Linked DNA regions of Homo sapiens: region 1 is linked to region 2. Evidence: promoter capture Hi-C in 16 types of primary human blood cells and fetal thymus (Javierre and others, 2016). All regions are on one chromosome and are shown on one strand. Each heading gives the region's core, a stretch centred on a gene start or on the middle of the fragment in contact. The rest is flanking DNA. Distances are from core to core; before and after follow the strand shown.

Region 1 (3,655 bases), core at 508-3,007, 470 kb before region 2:
ATTTTAATATTAATGTGTTGATACGTTAAAATAGTATTTTGGGCCAGGCACGGTGGCTCATGCCTGTAATCCCAGCACTTTGGGAGGCCGAGGCGGGTGGATCACTTGAGGTCAGGAGTTTGAGACCAGCTTGGCCAACATGGTGAAACCTCGTCTCTACTAAAAAAAAAAAAAAATTAGACCGGTCCTGGTGGTGCGTGCTGTAGTCTCAGCTACTTGAGGCCGAAGAATCACTTGAACCTGGGAGGCAGAGACTGCAGTGATCCAAGATCACACCACTGCACTCCAGCCTGGGCGACAGGGAAAGACTCTGTCTTAAAAAAAAAAAAATACTATTTTGAATATACTGAGTTAAATATGTTATTTAAATGGATATCACCTTTCATCTTTTAAAAAAAAAAGAACCTTTAGTATGGCTACTAGAAAATATTGTATTACTATAAAGCCTGCATTATATTTCTTTTGGACAGGGTTGTTCTAGAAGGATGTATTGTGACTGGAAGAGAAGTCTGGAGGAGCAGTGCATGGTTCTTAAAAGGCTAATCATGGTGTATGCTGTCTTTGAGGACCATGGATTGCTGATATAACAGAGAATAAGCCAAGTGTTACTAAACCCATCAATTACCAATATTCTGATGACTCATGATGAATTCAAATATAGTCAAGAGGAACCTGGAAGGTATTGTTGGTGAATCCAAAGAAATGGGTTGAAAACAAAAGGAATATAAGGCAGGGGAAATAATTTTGTTTCTTCTACCTAAAGCACAGTCTTTGAAGGGGAAATAGGTCTATGAAATGCTTCTTAAAACTAAAGTCTGATCTACCTCCATTACACCTTACCCTCTACAGGTGAGTCACTATTTCACACACACAAATATATCTGCTATAATGTATAATTTAGCCAACAGAGCTCCTCAGTAAATGCAACAAAACTATTTAAATATTGATAATCCATCTATATTACCTATGTCCAGTAAATGTTTGGAAAAAAAATTTATAACCTCTGGCCTCCCCCACCCCATACCCCAAATTATAAACTGGAATATTAAAAGGACCTGTAGGAATTCAACTGTAAATGCCCCAAGGGCAGCCCTATGTCTAACTGAATTATCAGCATTACCAGTACCATCTCAGTGCTGGTAATGCAGCAAATGACCAGTAAATTTTCACTAAATACACACAAAAAATGGCAGCTCATTGGAATTTTAAAGTCCACACCTAAACAATATGGAAAAGGCAAAGAATGGATATTCTAGACTGGTAAGCTTACTGTTGTAGATGGCTAATCACACAGATGGGGGCAAGTACTTAGAATGAAGACCCAGGAGTCAGCAAAGGTTTTCTAAAATCTGACTTCACATTCTTTTTCTGACTCTGCCTCTACCTGTGCAGGGAGTGACTCAACAGAGTAAATCCTGAATTCCTTAAGACCTCTGACAAAGCTCTTTTATATACCTGAAACAAGGTGGGGAAATAGCAGGCATGACGATCTAACAGTTAGAAGGCTTAGTAATGAGTAGAAAAATCATACAGGAAGATTGGTGTTTGGGGGACTGAGGTCAACCTAAAGAAATTCTTCAGGGGTGGAGCAGGAATCCCTCTTGGTCAACGTTTTTCTTCAGTAAGTTGGAAGAAATATGAAAAGCATCTATTTGCCAAGTAACACAAAGCTGGAAGAGACTTTGGATATAATTCAAAGACTCTATTTGGTTAGAAAGGTATACAGCTAATGAAAAGAATTATCTAGGATAGTGGTTTTCAAACTTTAACATGCAGCAGAATCATCAGGAAGGCTTATTAAAACACATTGCCAGGACTTATATCCAGAGTTTCTCACTCAGTGGGCCTGGGGTGGGGCCAAGAATGTGCATTTCTAACAGGTTCTTAGGTGATGCTGCTACTGCTAATCCAGGGACAACCCTCTGTGAACCCCTGGTACAGGAGATTCCTGTCATATACTTGTTTGCAACACCACGGTTTCTTTCTTAATTCCAACCTTCACAGCTGAGGTTCTTGAGTCATATTCTAGACTAGTGCCTTCTATGACAGATGGCTTTCTGTGGCTTCAGAAGCCATGCAAGCCACATCCTTTTCCAACTATCCTGTGGAAATCATTAGTAAAGAGTGCAACCCTCTTCTGGAAGAAGAAATCAAGCAGCTTCTTGAGGTATTTCCCCTCCCCCCCAATATATTTAAACCTGTAAATACTTACAGTAAAATTCAAAAGGAAAATGGTTCAGAAAGCTTATTTGGAAAGGGTGGCTCTATCAGGAAGGAGACTGGCATACTCACCAGAGAGGAAATATACCCAGTCGTGTGGTGATAAAAACCACGGCAAACATAACAAACAGGAGATCACACATTTTCTGAAACTTGGCATAATTTGCCATTTTGGCAGCCTATGAAAGAAAGGAATGTGATATATTAATGTAGTTAAACTGATAATAAAAAGTTTCTTTCAATATGCATGAATCTCCTATAAGATATACCTTACCAGATGCATAAAATTGCCTGCATTTTTATGCATTTCAGCCTGCGATTGAAATGTCATACATCATGCACCAGTATTTATAAATTACCCGTAAGTTGAGTGAAAGGCAGCATTAGCCATAAGTAGAATTCCTGACTGTTACAGATTTAATAAAATATTCAGCAACCTGAGAAATTCATTTGTATGGTTGATTTCAGAAAAACAGAGAGAAAAATAAGAGATTCTTGCATCATAGATGATACTAGCAAGCCAGAGACACCAAAACAGAAATCTGGCCTAACAGTTCAAACAGAAGTGCTGGACAATCCTTTAAACCTTTTTATGAATCTCAAATACCGGGGCCACAAACTTTATATAGAATATATGGAGCTTTTCTGCGTTTTTCTTCCTTTCTCCTTAAAATTGTAGGTTTTCTTTAAACAGGCACAAGGAGTACTCTGGGGAGATGCTCTTCTGGCTTACTCTCATGAACTTAGAAATGAAGAAAGTGTCAAGATGATGTCATTTCAACTAATCCATTTAGGTAGAATTTTCAAAACTACATGAATGGGTCATTTTTAGATGAAAGCCACTAATGTTCAAGGGTCTGTGAAAAGTACTCTCATAATTTATGACAGTGATTTAAGTGAAGACTTTTTATATTATAAATTAGTCTAGGGAAGAAATCACATCCCTTTCTCTACCATCTACTTTTTTTACAGATGATTCTAAAAACAGGTGAGACTGAAAACAATTTTGCTTAATCATCTCTTTTTACATTTTTGCATAGAATTCACAGCACCTACACACAGGGTTATAAATTCATGATGCCTTCTGAATTTATAACATTATTTTCTACTTCTTGGAAACTTAAATTAACTGAGTCAGATTTGAAAAGATTGTTGACATTATCCACAGAGGCTATAATTTAAAAGCTTTAAATAAAGCACAAAGCTATGAGAGGAATGTATTCCTAAGGGGAAATATCTATTAACTGGGTGGAAGTTAGGATTATAAGCTTTTAATTTCATGAACACTTCAGGTGTAACACCATAAATTATGTTAAAAGGTACCTTCTACCTTCTCCTGGCTAGGTAAATCATGAAATTTTTCTTTTATATTTTTTCACCAGTATTCAGTAAATAAGCTTTAAACACAAACTTTTCAGAAACGTCTAGGCCATAA
Region 2 (3,511 bases), core at 738-3,237:
ACATATATTTCTAAGTTTTAAGTACCATTTTACCCAATTGTTTACAGAAACATTAACTCTAATGCTTTTGTATAATTTTAAAATATTATTCATATTCTGTTCTTCATTTATAAAAATGATGCCAAAGAGCAATGCCAGGGGACATTCTTCTTTAAACCGATTTACTGTAGAAATGATGGATGTGCACTGAGTCATCCACTCAAGCAAGTCTTCATCCTGGTAGCCATTTGGAAAGCGGTTGACTAGAGACCGACATGTAGTCTGTGACTGGGGAACAGTTGCTTTTTGTGGGAGACTAATTGATCTGTGTTTGATTCAATTCTGTGATATTGATCTTGACGGCATCATGTTTTCCTACTAAGTCCCAAGAACATTCCTGGTCTTCATAATCCCACTTCATGGTTTGAAAGTCAAAAATAGAAATTCATATGACAAAATGGAAGTCATATTCATTTGATCATTTTTCTTTTCCTTTAAAAACAGTCCTTAAAAGTTCTTTGGGGTAGGGTGGAGGCAGCACTTGAAGAGGTCAGCAGCCATGGCTTGGTATAAAGAGCTCCCCTGTTCCTCAGAGGCCTAGAATTTGTTTATGAAGGGCTCTGTTTCTTGACAGACATGACAAGACACAGTTTTTGAAGTCCTCCGCATCAAAGAATGTACACTTAGTTCAGCATGAACTTCTGCTTCAAGACCAGAGCGAGGTAGCTGCTTTACTCCAACTTTTGTAATGCTCCAAGAGATTAAGTGCCCTCATCTTCAGTGGACATCAATGTTTTGATTAGACAACTAACTTTCCTAATAAATTTCTGGGCTTCTTCTGAATAATCTTTCAAAAATTTTAGTGAGATTTCTGTACATACACTCGGGAGACAAAATCATGATATCCCTAGAGTTTTTATTACATCCTCATTATTCTTACCTATTTCTTCAGCAGTCCTAGCAATGAGAACCAGACAAGATCATCTTGGCCAAACGACCAATACTATTGGTTTACTGCCCCGTTTCAGTTGGAGACAAGAACGGTGGATCCTGGTCACCTCCACGGAGGGAACACAGAGAACATTCACTGTTAAATATGACACCTATAATTAGGAAAACCTATGGTTTTACCATAGCAGTTTTACAGACGAGGTTATTTTTGGGGTGTTGAAAAAACAGCAATTAAAAGCTTCCAACACAGTTTATTCATGCCCCAATAAATTATTTCCCCACCAAGTATACGCTCTTAAAGAAACGCCTGATGTCTGGCCTCAGTGTCCTCACGGGCTAACGTGGCAATTATTAAGGGTGTAGAATTTGAGCAAACTTTCTAAACCTCTCCTGCATGTCTTATTCTAATTCCACAGCCCCTTAAATCGCCTCCCTGGGATCCAGGCGGCTTGGAAAAAATGAAGTCTGAACAGCCAGAGACCTAAGGAATCAAGTTTCATTTACTAAGAAAAACTAGAAGGACTGCGATTAGATTAGGCAAGGTGGGAAAGGGATACCGGCAAGTAAAGCGCCGGAAACTTACAACTTGGGTTATTTTCTAACTGGCGTCTTGCAAAGGGACACCATGTAGGTATCCCGCTCGTCAACTTGTAAATGAACTTCAGGTTCTCTTTGGTGGCAGGAGAATTCTGAATGTGAGAACCTGGCGGCCGTTCAACGACCCCGCCCTCGGGGTCCCCAGGGGGCGTCCTCCGGCAAGCCTGATCGTCTGGGGCCAAGGCGCAGGGCGAGCAGGGAGGGAGGAGGAGAACCAGGGCCGGTGGCCCCGAAAGCACACACAAAGCGGCCTGACTCCTTTGGTGGGAACTTCCCCGGCCGCCAGCGGAGCGGGAGCGGGAGGGGGCGGCGGAGAGGGGGGGCGGCGGTTCCCCTCGCCGAGGCGGAGAACAGCGCGCGCTAGGCTCTGGGCGCGCGGCGAGCGCAGCGGCCGCCGCCTCCTCCCTTCCCCGCCTCCGCCGGCGCTGCCTCCTCCCTCCGCCCAGCTCGGCCTCCCTTGCTCCCTCCCCTCCTAGCTGGCTTCGGCGGGGACGGCGGCGGCGGCGGCGGGCGGGGAGGGCGTGCGCCGGCCGAGAGGTGTCGGCGGCGAGGCAAAGGAAGTTTCAAGTGGAAGGTCGTCCGTCGGCCGGCGCGTCCTCCTGCTCTCCTCCGCAGCATCATGGCGGAGCCGAGCGGCTCGCCCGTGCACGTCCAGCTTCCCCAGCAGGCGGCCCCGGTGACAGCGGCGGCGGCGGCGGCCCCGGCGGCCGCGACAGCAGCGCCGGCCCCGGCAGCTCCCGCGGCCCCGGCCCCGGCCCCGGCCCCGGCGGCACAGGCTGTCGGCTGGCCCATCTGCAGGGACGCGTACGAGCTGCAGGAGGTTATCGGTCAGTGCGGCGGGCGCGGCGGGGCCGGCACAGGCCGGGCGCCGAGGCCGGGCGGGAGGGGGCGCGGGATGCTGGGCTAGCCTGCATGCACGCCCTGGAGGCAGAGAGGCCGGCTTCGGGGCCTACTGGCTTCAACAGTTTTTTTTTTTTTTTTTTTTTTTTTTTTAATTTTTAATGTATTTGTTCGTTCTATGAGCGTTGGTGCTGCAGGAGGCGGCGCGGCGGATGTGACTCGCACTGCAGACGAGCCGCATGCTGCAAACTTTTATCTCAGGGATCGCCGGGGCGGTGGAGCGGAGGACCAGGCGGCGCCGCCGCATCTTCCTCCCCCCGCGTGCCGGGACCGCAGCCCGTGGCCGGTGGCCACGCGGACAGGCAGCCGCGGGTGGGGTGTGGTTGCGGGGGCCCCGCCCTGGGTTTCCAGGGCCCCGGGGGCCGCGTCCTGGGGGACTCTGCGGGCGCAGCCGCTCCTCTGCCTCCCGTCGTGACCCTCTCGTCGTGGGTAACGGGGCCACGTAGAAGCCGCGGAGGCCCCAGTGCTTTTCTGAGGCCGGGGAGGATGCTGGCCTCTCTTCCTGACAGCCGCCACTCCACGCCCGCCTTGCAGCCCGGCTCTCCGCGCCACTCGGCGCGCCCGGGTACCCGCCTCCCTCCGTGCCAGGGTGCGCCGCCTGCCGCCCAGTCCGGCTCCCCGGGGAAAGCGGGTGCCCTGGCCTCCTGCCCTGCACCGGGCCGATGCTTCCCTCTGTTTCAGGCCGAGCTGCAAGAGTGAAATCCGAGGCTGCCGGTGATCTGCTCTCTGCCTTTCGTTGCCTTCTGGCCGGCTCACAAATATCACCTTATCTTACATTTTTAAATACCTGGCAGAGTCGCAGGGCTCGGCGTTACTTTTCCTTGGGCCAAGCACTTGAAGGGCCAGGAGATTTGTTTTGTCCCTTGACTTAGAACCTTCCCTATTGGATCATCCAGTTTGAGAGTCTTGTCACTTAGGGAAGCCTCCAGGTTAAGTGGGCCCTCAGCGTCTAACCTTACTGACGCAGGGATGGGATGTTGCCTTTCCAGAATCTTGGTATATAAGTACAGCGATGAAAAAGGAGTTCAGAATATTTATCTTAAGTATTTTTTCTAACTTTCACTTCAAAAAATTCTTCACCTCC

The links. The method cuts DNA at HindIII sites, captures the fragments that hold promoters and counts their contacts. A CHiCAGO score of 5 or more calls a contact.
Region 1: a fragment that was not itself captured here is called in contact with the fragment with the promoter of STK39 in region 2 in 2 of 17 cell types (non-activated CD4 T cells and activated CD4 T cells); the score reaches 5.4 in non-activated CD4 T cells.

The regions. Positions count from the first base shown.
Region 1 is chr2:168,716,616-168,720,270 of GRCh38, reverse strand. CERS6 (ceramide synthase 6) reads right to left here. Exons shown (of 10, transcript NM_203463.3): 8 at 2,293-2,399. Among named protein-coding and RNA genes, the nearest start is that of CERS6-AS1, 68 kb to the left of the region's middle. The HindIII fragment of the contact is 979 bases long and covers 1,268-2,246 here.
Region 2 is chr2:168,246,071-168,249,581 of GRCh38, reverse strand. STK39 (serine/threonine kinase 39) reads left to right here and starts at 1,987. Exons shown (of 18, transcript NM_013233.3): 1 at 1,987-2,354. The coding sequence starts at 2,147. It overlaps LOC107985959 (a long non-coding RNA gene), which reads right to left and starts at 1,621. Exons shown (of 5, transcript XR_007087282.1): 1 at 1,514-1,621. RefSeq lists silencers at 1,782-2,031, 2,242-2,291, 2,652-2,701, 2,792-2,881, 2,902-3,101. The HindIII fragment of the contact is 2,511 bases long and covers 1,171-3,511 here.